Linked DNA regions of Homo sapiens: regions 2 and 3 are each linked to region 1. Evidence: promoter capture Hi-C in 16 types of primary human blood cells and fetal thymus (Javierre and others, 2016). All regions are on one chromosome and are shown on one strand. Each heading gives the region's core, a stretch centred on a gene start or on the middle of the fragment in contact. The rest is flanking DNA. Distances are from core to core; before and after follow the strand shown.

What was found. Contacts are between HindIII fragments. The CHiCAGO score rates a contact against its expected background, and 5 or more counts as called.
Region 2: a contact is called between a fragment that was not itself captured here and the fragment with the promoter of SCAT8 in region 1, in 1 of 17 cell types (M2 macrophages). The highest score is 5.7, in M2 macrophages.
Region 3: a contact is called between a fragment that was not itself captured here and the fragment with the promoter of SCAT8 in region 1, in 1 of 17 cell types (M1 macrophages). The highest score is 5.0, in M1 macrophages.

The regions. Positions count from the first base shown.
Region 1 is chr6:63,804,618-63,809,325 of GRCh38, reverse strand. It overlaps SCAT8 (S-phase cancer associated transcript 8), which reads right to left and starts at 2,490. Exons shown (of 2, transcript NR_157848.1): 1 at 2,440-2,490. It overlaps EYS (eyes shut homolog), which reads left to right. Exons shown (of 43, transcript NM_001142800.2): 37 at 2,954-3,136. The HindIII fragment of the contact is 5,141 bases long and covers 786-4,708 here.
Region 2 is chr6:63,062,387-63,067,094 of GRCh38, reverse strand. No RefSeq gene overlaps it. Among named protein-coding and RNA genes, the nearest start is that of FKBP1C, 150 kb to the left of the region's middle. The HindIII fragment of the contact is 2,402 bases long and covers 1,487-3,888 here.
Region 3 is chr6:63,276,113-63,280,820 of GRCh38, reverse strand. It overlaps LGSN (lengsin, lens protein with glutamine synthetase domain), which reads left to right. Exons shown (of 4, transcript NM_016571.3): 4 at 1-4,708. The coding sequence ends at 800. Among named protein-coding and RNA genes, the nearest start is that of LGSN, 42 kb to the left of the region's middle. The HindIII fragment of the contact is 2,822 bases long and covers 1,407-4,228 here.

The sequences.
Region 1 (4,708 bases), core at 1,241-3,740:
TACCTGGCGGAAGATGGAAAAGGGCTTAAAGTATTGAAAAGAATGATTTGTAAGGTTGAAAGTCTTCTTTCTCCTAGTCTGAGTCCCTCACGTTCTTCTGCCTAATTCAGAGTTATAGAGACAGTGTGGGTGCAGACATAGAAGCCTCTTAGTGATGGATTATATTATCTTTGACCTCTTCTCCTGATTCCTATTGCTCCCCACAGAGGCCCTACCTTTTTATAGGTTCAAAGTTACCAAAAGAAAAAGCCCCTTGAAGTAAGTCACAACTAACGGTTTAGAGGAAGAACTTAACCTATCAAAACATGCTTGGATCTCTCTGCGTTGCCATTCAATAGAAATAGAATGTGAGCTGCCTATGTCATTTTGTTTTCTAGTAGCGACATTTTTCAAAGTTAAAAGAAACAGGTGAAATTTATTTTAGTAATATATTTTATTTAACCCAATGTTTAACGGATATGGGAATGTTATTAATAATATATTTTACATTCTTTGTTTCATACTGAGCCCTTCCCACACAGGCCTAACCACAATTCAAATGCTCAACAGCTGCAGGTACCACTAGACTAAGAAATGCTGAGCATTTGACAGATCCATTCCTATGGGTCATGGTTATCATCAGTCTTCATTATTATTCTCAAACTTCAAAAGTACTTATTTTTGATAGTAAAAATTATATCATGAAATTGCACTGATAATGTATTTCCATTAGCTGTTTAAATATCACACCATTGCCTTAATGAGTTACTCATAAATTGCCTTACATTTAGATTTCTGCATAAGCTTAATTCATTGTTAGATTTCTTGATATCAAAGTTCTTATTTTCATCCTTGACCAAAGTTTGGTCCTCCAGCTCTCTGTCTAATCTATGATTCACACTTCATCAACAGAATAATATTTCTAAAAAGCAACTTTGATCATTGCCCAACTACTTTAGGATAATAAAGAAAATATATAGTTCTTCATGATTTGACCACTGTCTATCTTGTTTCATTTCCTTCCACTCTCACTTTTCTTCTTCATTCTAAAATTTGCAGACTTCATAAGTTCCCTGAGTATGACATGCTGTTTTGGTCTTCACACCCTAGAACATGCTGTTTCTTCTGCCTGAAAGTTCTTATACCAGGCCTCAACTTTCAGTCCAGTTCAGCTGAATAAATGTATTGACTTCACACTAATCCCTTGAGTGACTAGTGCTTTTTTATCTTTGTGTCACCAGCATCTAGCACAGGTTCTGACAGTAAAATACCATATATATGAGATACGTATTTGTCAATCTAGCCTAAATGTAACCTTTAGGTAGACTCAGTTGTAAATTATTAACAGGAAGAAATATTAAAAGCAAAAGATAGTCATTCCTTTTCTATTTTAGTATTAAATTTAACTGAATTCTATTTTCATAGTTTTTAATGCCAACATTGAATGATGGTCAGTATTTTTATTCTGTTTCAACTCCAGTACATTTCATTTCCCTCAATCACCCTCCCCATAGTACTACTGAAAGTGATATACCTGAGAGTGTTATTATCTCAGGGACACAAATTATAAAGTTTTCATTAGATTAAAAAATAAGTATAAGAAGCAATATGTCTCAAAAGTCCCTACTTCACATTCTGGTGAGTTTTGAGAAAATTACATTTAACCTATGCCACACATCCCAGGGAATAAACTGATAAGATTTTAATAAAATATCAAAACAAAGTATTCAGCTTCACACAAATATCTTAGTTTAATAGTCATAATAAACTGATAAGATTTTAATAAAATATCAAAACAAAGTATTCAGTTTATTCACACAAATATCTTAGTTTAATAGTCATATAAAACAAAGATATACAAGCCTTTGATAATAAGCATCATTTTTCCTAAATTATTTGCTGTATACACAATTATAAACAGACATAAGAAGCTCTTTTAAGTGTTACATACCAGAGTGAGTATATTTCTTAAGGCTTGTAAAAATTCTAATTTTACAGCTTCCCTGGAGTTCCAACATCTCTTGAGAAGGAAACAACATAAGCTCTTATTTCCTCAACCGAGCTGTCCCCAACCAATAAAAATAGATCCTAGGAACATCCCTTAATCTGGTGACATCATCCATAAAAGACAGGAATGGGGTGTCAAAATCCCCTTTCTATTTTCTGTTGTCCTCTTTGGGTAAGGAGATTTAAAAAACCAGTGGAGACTTATGAAGGAAACAGTACAATGAAAGAGAAGAGTTCGATACAAGAAGCAACCCTCAGTTAAATTCTATTTTGTTCACACTGGCCCTTGAACTTCATCTAATTTTACCATTTCCTGTTTTTAATAAATCTCCCTACACTTTCACACCAATTGAATTCCATGTTTTTATTACTTAAGAAGCATCTCAGCAAAGAAATAATGAACATTTCTTTTAGACAATTATTTTTACTTAAAGAAAAGCTCTGGTCACTCACCAATGATGATAGAAAACTGACCGATTTCCTTCCTATTTCTTGACTTTCCTAGCCCTGACCTGGGGCTTTGGCTCAGATAAAGGTGCAGGATTAGAAAAGCACAGTTTGTTCAAAGGTGTGAGCTCCTCTCTAAGTCATATCCAGGTTTTGGATGCCAAATCATGTTTACGAGGCACCTGAGTAAATACTTTGTTTGGCTGCCAGTAATCTTTTCTATTTCTAAAATTAAGTTTCAAAATATAGGGGTTTGCTTTTTAAGTAAATTATCCATTATGTAGAAAGAGTATGCTAGTGAAAGGATTATATAGAAGATCTCAAAACACTGCATTTCCTTTGTTCTGGTTTTGAAATTTCCTGTTGAGTCACTTAGTTGCTCAATGCTGAAGGGCACTAAAGTATAATTAATGTAATAGTAAACAGACTATCTGGCCAGATGCATCAGCAAAACGTAACCCTCACTTTACAAATACATGTACAGGTTTATTTTAACTGTTTGGTTTGGGTTTTTTCACAGCTATTAATATTACTCAGCCAAGGTTCAGTGGCACAGATGCCTTTGGATACACCTCATTCCTGGCTTATTCACGGATCTCAGACATCAGCTTCCATTATGAATTCCACCTGAAGTTTCAGCTGGCAAACAACCACTCAGCACTGCAAAATAACTTGATATTTTTTACTGGACAGAAAGGCCATGGTAAGATTAACTGAACCCTCTAGGACTTGCCTCGCTCCTTTAAGAATACTTTAGAGATTCCTCAGGGACACTCTAATTGGCTGTGGTAAAAAAAAGACCTTTGCCTAGATGCAGCCTCCTCCTGTTTTCTGCCTTGAGCATGTTCGCTGTAGTCCAAAGTACTTAGCAGTTCCCTGATCCTTTCTGAAGCTCTACTTTGCATCAGGGCTACTGTATTAGTCAGTTTTCATGCTGCTGTAAAGAACTGCCAGAGACTGGGTAATTTACAAAGGAAAGAAGTTTAATTGACTCACTGTTCAGCATGGCTGGGGAGGCCTCCGGAAATTTACAAGCATGGTGGAAGGGGAAGAGGAAGCAGAGTACTTTCTTCACAAGGCAGCAGGAAGACGTGCCTAGTAAAGGGGAGAATTTCTCCTTATAAAACCATCAGATCTCCTGAGAACTCACTCACTATCACGAGAACGCATGAGGAAAACCACCCCCATGATTTAATTACCTCCACCTGGTCTCTCCCTTGACACCTGGGGATTATGGGGATTACAATTCAAGATGAGGTTTGCGTGGGAACACAAAACCTAACCATATCAGCTACCTTTCATAATCAAAAGAAAAAATTCCTACAGGCAAACATGAGGACAGGGAAGGTGACCAAGTCACATGGGAAGTAAGTTTATTGATTTGTCCTTTCCTCTGTTTCTTTCTGTTTCCATGTCTGAAGAGAGAAGGGAAATTCTCATTTTTCCATGTGTTATAAAATGGAAATGGTTGTTGCCCTCAAAGAAAACCATTCTAAATTAAAGGAGCAAGAAATTAAGAAAGTACTCAGCCTGTAACAAAGTACTCTAGTGCCCTGGAATTGGTGGGAAATCAACTTATAACTTACATTTGTCTCTCTTAAGTAGAAACTAGTTATGCATGTGCTAAGTCAAGGAAAATTACCTATGTTTTACTTTTAAGTCTGCAATCAACAGTTAAGCAATTAATCACCTAACTTCTCTGAGTTCAGTGTTTTCATCTGTGAGATCAACATATTGTAACAGAAAAAGACCTTTCTCTCAGCTGTCAGTGGTTCTACGGTGCTAGGGTAAATAACATATTCTGTTTTTTTCAACTCAATCAGTGACTGTCTCTTAATACCAAACACTCTTTTCTGTATCAGCATATGTCTGAAAGGAGCCTACACCCCAAATGAAATGTGGTATTTCAGACTCCCACCATGTCTGCTAGGATGGGGTACTCTATCATGTAAAGTACTATTCATTCTACCTCCAAAATTTGTTTGAATCTCTTCCCCATCCCTATGCTGAAACCTCATGACCTCTTCCTGACTGGTCTCCCTACTGATTTCCTGCCTGCAATTAATTATCCACATTGTAATAAGAGTTAGCCTCTTAAAAGGTTTATTAGATCATGTCTGAACCTTGTTTAAAACCCATCTGTGGCTTTTTACTGCACTTAGAATGCAATCCAAACCTCCTTATCATGTTCTCAAAGGGCCTTCAGGATCAGATCCCAGTCTGCATCTCTGAACACAACCAGGCCACTCTCACTATCTCTGTGCTTTTCTCCTAC
Region 2 (4,708 bases), core at 1,438-3,937, 740 kb after region 1:
ATGTTCTCACTGATACATGGGGGCTAAGCTATGAGGATGCAAAGGCATAAAGATGATACAATGGACTTTGGAGACTTGGGGGGAAGAGTGGGAGGGGGTAGAGGGATAAAAGACTACAAATATTTTCCAGTGTATACCGCTGGGGTTATGGGTGTACCAAAATATCACAAATCACCACTAAAGAGCTTACTCATGTAACCAAATACCATCTGTACCCCAATAACTTATGAAAAAAATGTAAAAAGATGTTAATTAATGTTACTGAATCTCACTCTTATCTGTAAAATAGGATTGAGAAGAATATTTCACATTAATTTATGTTGAAGATTATAAAAACAAAATTTTATGTGTATTGTAAAACATATAGTCTATTTTTTAAGTGGTAATTATTATTTGGCAGAATGTGGTAAAAGGAACACTTATAGGAAAAGTGGCTGTAGGTATTGGATGTTGTGATGTGCTATCCAACTTCCCTGCTTGGTGACGGTGGAACTCCTTCTTCTAGCTGCAGGGACTTTTGGCTGATAACAGATCAGAGCTAATCCTAGTGACTGATTGATAAGGATTTCAAAGGCCCAGCCCCCCTGCCTTAGTGTGGCATCTCTGAGGGCTGTCCTGGCTCCAGATGTCCCTATGTGGTTGGCTGAGGCCCCTGCTGCAACTGCATTGAAGTTCAACTTCTCCCTTTGCCCAATCTTTCTTTATTCTCTCTCTCATGAGTGCTGCTTCTGAGGATATTCCCCAAGAAACTTCCTATAACCAAATCTGTCTCAAGAGTCTGTGCCCAGGGCATTCACCTATGAGCATGTGACTTGAAGAATGCTGAAATTTCTCCCCCTGCTGGCCTACATGAATGTCAAATATTAGTGTCAACCGCTCATTCATTCAACACTCACTTCTCTTTGTTGACAACCTGCTACATGTCAAGCGCATCTTTTTCAGTTTTCTTAAACTAGAAAGTTCCTCATTCTAGTTAGAGAGTCCCTACTTTAAGAGTCCCTACTCTTAAATAGGGCCAAAACATTCTAACATGTTGACAGCAGTGAGAATTTCTGATTGTCTATTACAAGGTGTCAGCTAGTAGGAAACTTTCTGTCAGGTTTACTAGAAATCATTTGCTAAGTAAAAGAAATATACATTTGATTTATATTGAGAAAAAATAATGTAACAGCATGAATAAATTATGAAAATATGCAAGTATAACACAGGCAGTACATTAGAATAACAGATGCAAACTTGTTTTGTGAATTATGAGGTTATTCTCAAATTATGTGTGATTTTATTCTCAAGCTGTTCATTATATCTTTTCTCCTATTTCATTTTATTTGAAAGCATGTTTTTCTAAGTGGGAACTGGTTTATGCTCTAAAATTAGAGGCAGCAGGGTGAAATGAGAACATGAGTTTTAGTGTAAAAAAGATTTGGGGCTGAATTCATTTACCATTTTATAATTGTGAACTTGGGGAAATTACCTTGTTTTTGAAGCTTGGCTTTCTTGTAAGTTCAATGAGGATACTAATACCTACTCAGTAGGATTTTAAGATAATTAAACAAAAGTATATGTGTAGAAAGAACAATGTCACTTTAAAAGAATTCAATGAATAAAGATAATTATTGTTATTATCATAGTATCTTGTTCATATACGATGCTCATCATTTGATAAACTTCATTACACAATTAAATGCATTACCAATACCTGGGAATTCAGGATTCCCAAATGATCATCTGAGAGGTCACATAACAGAAAATTCTCATGTAGACCAACTAATTCAATACTGTGAGAATTAAATGAGTTGATATAAGCACATGCCCAAAATCAGCTTTTTATGGTGCTTAATGAGTATGTCCTTTAAATAGTACTTTGTTAAACACATAGTTGCTTAAATATTTCTTGTTCTAAATAAACATTTTGTTCTATTGTTAAAATTATTGGTCTGCTTTCAGTTACAATAGCGTGGGTCTTACAACTCTTATCTGTTTACAAGGAAGGCAAATTTTCTAAAAAATTGTTCTAACTTGGTGCCAGATAAGTGAACTATGTTTATGTCTATGTATTGAAAACAAAACAATAAAAATAAAATAGAAAAATTATTGAACATAACTTTGACGAAAATAGAACTTTAAAAGAATTGTAGTTCGTACATTTTTCTGACTTCTACATCAACTAATACTGTATTTGAGTTTTCTAATACGGAAAAGCTATCTTGAATATACCTAAGATGGATCTAGACCAAATGCTTCAATGTAGACCAAAAGTGAGGCTCAGTTCATTTTGAAGGTGCCAGATGAAAAAAAATAGATTTCTTTTTAGTGTTCTTCCTACCTTGGGAGTTTTGAGATATTTTCTAGAATGCTATTTCTAGTAAATACAAGGGAAAGACCTTGGTGCACTTTGATAGTGCCATGCTAGTCACAGTTCTGAACTAAAAACTTAGATATGGCATCATGCCAGGACCACCTTGAAATATATGACAAATGCATTAGCTTGGAGCAAGAGAGATTCATATATCTTAATTTTCTAATATTTTAAAACTCTGGTGTGGCATGGAAAATAAATGATTTCATAGCAATCCTGAGAATTTTTCATTTTACCTGGGTCACATTTGTAATAGTTGCCAAAGAAGAAAAAAAGTCTTTATAATATGTGTGTACATGCGGTTATGGCTTTAATTTCCAACCTTTGGATGACTATTACAATTCTGGTTAGGCTACAGCAAAGTAGCAGAATCATCATGGAGAGGATATCCCACTCTACACTTTGGGGGGTGTCATAAGGCAGGTGAGGGACCTGGAAAATGCCATGGTTCTTGTTATGGGGGAGCCTGTGTCATAAAATGACAGTGAGAGCCACAACAGGAATCCCATGTGAGTACAGCTAATATAGAATTTGTCTACTTGTGGCAATGGCTTCCTTTAGTAAGGTCAAATTCACAGAAAAGAAAAGCAAATGTGAATCTTGCATCTTTGTTATAAGTGTTATAGCTAGTTAGCTGTGCTCCTTTAGGCAAGTCACTTTAAGTATTCATGACTGCTCTACCAAGGGCGGGGGCATAATATAGTTAGAAGGACGTTGAAAAACATAAAGTGCCACATAAACCTAAGTTATTGCCATTTATAATTTAATTCATTTTTAGAAACTTTTAAATGTCAAAGATATTTACATGTTTAATTTTCTTCTAACATAGTGTTGAGAATACCATTTCCAAGGTAGAGGCAGAAGAGAGTTTCCTTTCTGATCCTAGAAATCTTTTTCATGAATTGCTAATGGAGATGCTATCAGAGAGGCTGTATGACTGGTTCCAAAGTTTTTTTGTTTTGTTTTGTTTTTCAACTTTTATTTTAAGTTCTGGGGTACATGTGCAGAATATACAGGTTTGTTACATAGGTAAACGTGTGGGTCCAGGCATTGGGTAAATACACCCCATTCCTTGTGGGAGAAATTGGCCAAAACAAAGGGACTACAGGCCCCATGTGAGTTAGAAATCCAGCAGGGCAGTCAAATCTTAAAGCTCCAAAATGATCTCCTTTGACCCCAGGTCTCACATCCAGGTCATACTGATACAAAAAGTGGGCTCCCATGGTCTTGAGCAGCTCCACCACTGTGGCTTTGCGGGGTACAGCCCGCCTCATGGCTGCTTTAATGGGCTGGTTGGTATTGGGTGCTTGTGGCTTTTCCAGATGCACACTGCAAGCTGTTGGTGGATCTGCCATTCTAGGGTCTAGAGGATGGTGGCCCTCTTCTCACAGCTCCATTAGGCAGTCCCCATTAGGGCACTTCTCACAGCTCCATTAGGCAGTGGGGACTCTGTGGGGGCTCCAGCCCCACATTTCCCTTCTTCATGGGCATAGCGGAGATTCTCCTTGAGGGCTCTGCCCCTGCAGTAAGCTTTTGCCTGGACATTCAGGCCTTTCCATACATCCTCTGAAATCTAGGTGGAGGTTCCCACACCTCAGTTCTTGACTTCTGTGCACCAAAAGGCCCAACACCACATGGAAGCTACCAAGGCTTGGGGCTTTTAACTTCTGAAGCAATAGTCTGAGCTATATGTTGGCTCCTTTTAGCCATGGCTAGAGCAGCTGGGATGCAGTCTTGAGGGTGCACAGAGCAGGGAGTCCTTGACCCCGCCAGAAAATCATTTTTTCCTCCTAGACCTCCAGACCTGTAATGGGAGGGGCTGCCATGAAAGTCTGTGACATGCCTTGGGGACATTTTTCCCATTGTCTTGGTGATTAACATTTGACTCCTTATTTATGCAAATTTCTGCAGCCAGCTTGAATTTCTCTCCAGAAAAATGGTTTTTCTTTTCTATCACATCATCAGGCTGCAAATTTTCCAAACTTTTGTCCTCTGCTTCCTCTTGAATGCTTTGTCATTTAGAAATTTCTTCCACCAGATACCCTAAATCATCTCTCTCAAGTTCAAAGTTCCAAAGATCTCTAGGGCAGGGGCAGAATGCTGCCAGTCTCTGCATAACAAGAGTGACATTTAGTCCAGTTCCCAACAAGTTCCAACTGAGACCACCTCAGCCTGGACTTTATTGTTCATATCACTATCAGCATTTTGGTCAAAGCCATTAAGCAAATCTCTGGGAAGTTCCAAACTTTCACATTTTCCTGTCTTCTTCTGAGCCTTCCAAACTGTTTCAATCTCTGCTTGTTACCCAGTTCCAAAATCACTTTCACATTTTCAGGTATCTTTACAGCAGCT
Region 3 (4,708 bases), core at 1,568-4,067, 530 kb after region 1:
TTGATGGCTTGTATCACACTGGAGCCAATGTCGAGAGTTTTTCCTCCTCTACCAGGCCTGGTCAGATGGAAATCTCTTTCCTGCCTGAATTTGGCATTAGCTCAGCTGATAATGCATTTACCCTCAGAACAGGTGTCAAAGAAGTGGCAAGGAAATATAATTACATTGCCAGCTTCTTCATTGAGACTGGATTTTGTGATTCAGGGATTTTGTCTCATAGTCTCTGGGATGTCGATAGGAAGAAAAACATGTTCTGCAGCACTTCTGGAACTGAGCAGCTCACGATCACTGGGAAAAAATGGTTGGCAGGACTCTTGAAGCACTCTGCTGCGCTCAGCTGCCTGATGGCGCCTTCTGTTAGCTGCCGAAAGCGTTATTCCAAGGACAGGAAAGACCTGAAGAAGAGTGTGCCTACAACATGGGGATACAATGACAACAGCTGTATATTTAATATCAAATGTCATGGAGAGAAAGGCACCCGGATAGAAAATAAACTAGGCTCAGCAACAGCAAACCCTTACTTGGTGCTGGCTGCAACTGTTGCTGCCGGCTTAGATGGACTTCATAGCAGTAATGAGGTCTTGGCTGGTCCAGATGAGAGCACAGACTTTTACCAAGTGGAACCTTCTGAGATCCCTTTAAAACTAGAAGATGCCCTTGTGGCACTGGAAGAAGATCAATGCCTGAGACAGGCTCTAGGAGAAACCTTTATTCGATATTTTGTTGCCATGAAGAAATATGAGTTGGAGAATGAAGAAATAGCTGCAGAGAGAAATAAATTCTTAGAGTATTTTATTTAGAATAGAGCTCACAACTACTCCTTTAGACATGTAATTGTTACTTAAAGCTAATCTACCAAAACAAAAAGACTGAACTTTTGTAATTAACAACAGCAACAATAACAAGATTACGAATGCTTTTGACTTTTTTTTTTGTCCATGGAATATTTGACAGATGAAGTAGGACTGCTGAGAAGATTCTGATAACAGAAACAAACAACAAAGTTGTGGTGAAGCTATAATATGCAAACTTACCAGATCTTGTCAGTCATTTCCTATGTGTATGTTGACCTGGATAAGAATATCCAATTTTGGGTGGCAATAAATATATTCGCACATTAAGAAAAAAAAGACTTAAGCATTAGAAAGCAAAATTTAAATGACTAAAAAAGAAAAAAAAGAAAAGGAGAAAAAATTTTAATGGTACACATAGGTTATGATTTCCAGGGAGACAAATATACTAATATAGTCTCGCTAATCAAATAATATTGTGAATCCAGGTTGTATGCACCATTATGGTCTTTCTAAACAAGTTAAATAAACTTTTGCCAAAATATAATGACAGGTAGGCAGTTTTCCCCTAAGTCTCTTCTCTTTTCACCCTTCTCCACTAGCTCCTGAAAAGCTTATGAACTTCAAGGTTATAATGTCCTCAAGAAACAAATCCCTAAGGAATAGAATTGGAGCTGAGAACAACGAGGTCAGATTTTAAAAGTAGTTAAAGCCTTTCTTTTAACAATGCCTCATATAGAAGTTCAATACACAAAGTATAGATAGAAAGATGTTTGTGTGTGAGGGTAGGTGGGCTCTGTCTACTCTGCTTCATTCTTTGAAACTAGATGTTCCTCTGAAACCTCTAGTGCTCTGTGGAGTGTGAGAACAACTGCCTGGCTAGCCAGGGCTATGTTTGGAGTTTAAGTTTGTTATTCAAATTACTGAATCTGCTGCTCACAGAGGTTGGTACCTCCCCAGAGAATATTACCTGTTCCAGGCCTTTGTTTGAATGAGATAATATTGTAACTATCACAAAAGTTTAGCTGCTTTTGGGAAGAAGTCCAAAATCCACTTACTAGCAAATGAAACATTATTCTACTGCTTAGGATCAAACAGCAGATTTTATGTTCAATTAAAACTGACTGTAGTCTCAATTTAGATAGCAATTGCACAAGCAGAGGATTAGAATTTGGCTCAGATCCTCTTATTAAAATTCATATTACTCAGTAGCTTAAATAGTGAAAGTCAGTCTATCCTTCACTAATTACTCCCTTCTTTTTTCCTTTGAGCAGGAGAAGTGTGTTTGGATACATAAGAAGAAAGTTCCCAGCACTTTGGGAGGCCAAGGCAGGAGGATTGCTTGAGGCCAGGAGTTTGAGTCCAGCCTGGACCACATAGTGAGACCCCTGTTTCTACAAAAAAAAAAAAAAAAATGCCTCGCATGGTGGCACATGCCTGTAGTCCCAGCTACGTGGGAGGCTGAGAAGGGAGGATCGCTTGAGCCTGGGAGTTTCAGGCTGCAGTGAGCCATAATCACACCACTGCACTCCAGCTTGGGTGACAGAGTGAGACACTGTCTTAAAAAAAAGAGAAGAATAAAATTCATGGATGCATATGGGGTAGAGAGAAAGATAGTGTAGGGTAGCTGGGGGAAGGAAGGGAACCTGTCCTGAAACCTCCAGAATGAAATCCCACACATTACATCATGGGAGGGATAAGGAAGACTCTCATGCCAATTTTCTAGCTGTCTGCTAGAAAATTCCCCTCTGTTCATTTTCCCCTCTGTTCTCAGTAATAAAACCTCAATATGTTCTTTGAAAGCAATGAAAAATGAAATGATATTTCTGAGCCTTCATTAAGGTTGGATGTGGTCATGTTATTAGGTTCAGTGCAAAGAGGTGAAAGTAGAAGTGTTGCATATAAGTTCTTTAGGACATTTTCTTTTCTTTTCTTGTATTTTTTTTTTTTTTCCGAGATGGAGTCTCGCTTTGTCACCCAGGCTGAAGTGCAATGTGGGGGGGTCTTGGCTCACTGCAACCTCTGCCCCCTGGGTTCAAGTAATTCTCCTGCCTCAGCCTCCCAAGTAGCTGGGATCCCAGGTGCCTGCTACCATGCCTGGCCTTTTAGTAGAGATGGGGTTTCACCATATTGGCCAGTCTGGTCTTGAACTCCTGAACTCAGGTGATCAGCCTGCCTTGGCCTCCCAAAGTGCTAGGATTACAGGCATGAGCCACCATGCCCTACCACACTTTAGAACATTTTTTTAAATGACGGATGCTGTGTGCTCTGCCCTTTCTTTCTCTTGCTGCCTTCACCCTTCCTGCTGAGTGGCCTACAGATAATGTGGCTAGGATTATGTCCTTGGGAAGGGAGGTTTGCTCCACAGGGTACAGTAATAAGGTGGAATCTCTGCTTTGTAGAGCAGTTTGACTTGCCTACATCCAGATGTTTACCTGAGAGAGAACCAAACTTCTATCTTCTTTAAGCCACAATGATTTTGATTCTTTGTTAGTTGCAATGAAATTTATTTTCTCTTTTCCATGTGTGTGTTGTATGTGTGTTTGTGTGTGAGTGTGTGCATATGAGTGGGGAATTTGAGGGATTTGGGGATGAAAGAACAAAGGTATAAGAACCAGTGAAAGACGACTTCCTCAATATTCCCACTTCTAGAGAGGATAATCTGAGTTAATCAAAGGGATCCACACATCCAAAAAATGGGATTGGCTCTAACCCATCCCTATAAAGTGGCATATCCCTTTATAGTCCACGGGCCTTAATGAAACATGTCTAATGCATTGACTTCATTTTACCATAATGAGTAAAGATGCTGTAAAAAGTCTGATAATCACAGTGTTTGAAGCCGTTTTTTCCCCTTTCGCATTATTAGCATAACTTAAAAACACAGTACTCAGGATGCCATGTGAAGGAATTATATAACTAGGAATATTATCTTCAGTATTAAGTGTACAGTCGTGAGTCAAAGAAAATATTCAGCCATAGATTACAAATCAGTTGATAACGTAAGTTGGTGTGGCAGTTTCCACCAAGATTTCAGTTAGGTGTGTGCTGATGTATATTCTTGTTCTTTAAGGCAACCCAAAAAGAGGCATTGGCCAGCAGAGTTCAGGGCCAAAGACAAATTGGGGTAGGTACATGTAAAAATCAGTTATCTATTTTTCTATTTCTTTCATCTGTTCATAGGCTTTCTATTGTTGAAAGGACTTTCTGCTGATGCTTCTACCTTCTTGGTCTGGGTTAAGAGGGTCAGACATTCATTCAGCAGCACTTATTGAGCACCATTTGTGTGCTAAGCCTTCAGCTGGGAGCCATCATACTAGGGGAGACCAAAACAAAGATGAGCAGACAATGAAAGAGTTTTGGATCTGTGTATCTTAAGCAGAACATAAATAATTTTTTTTGTAGACCTAATGCTGAAAAAAGCTATTTGGAAAGCTTCTTTATGGCTCGAAAAGGGTGCCTTATAAATAGCTTTACAAAAATTGCTTTCTTATTTTCATTTACTATAATTGTTCTAATCAAAGCTTAGGGGAAAAATGTGATTACTGAATTTAAAGTTGGTAATTAAATGAGTATACATAAGAAATGTAAATTAAAAGCGATAATATTTTAAGACTAGAAATTAAAACATTAGTATTGTAGTAACAAGTTTCTATTTTCAAGGACATTCTATAATCTAAAATTTCATTTTACAGTGTGTGAATAACAACAACGCTTGAAATGATTATTTGAAGGCAATGAAAGATCAAAAAACTTTAATCTGAATAAAAATTGAAAGCATACAGTGAAGTCTGAGCTTATCAGTAAAACAGAACAGTCTATTGACATATCTCCAGTCACCTGTTTGACAAAATACACTCACCAATATGTTTATGATATAGGTATGACTGGACAATACCTTTAACCTTGGGTTTTCT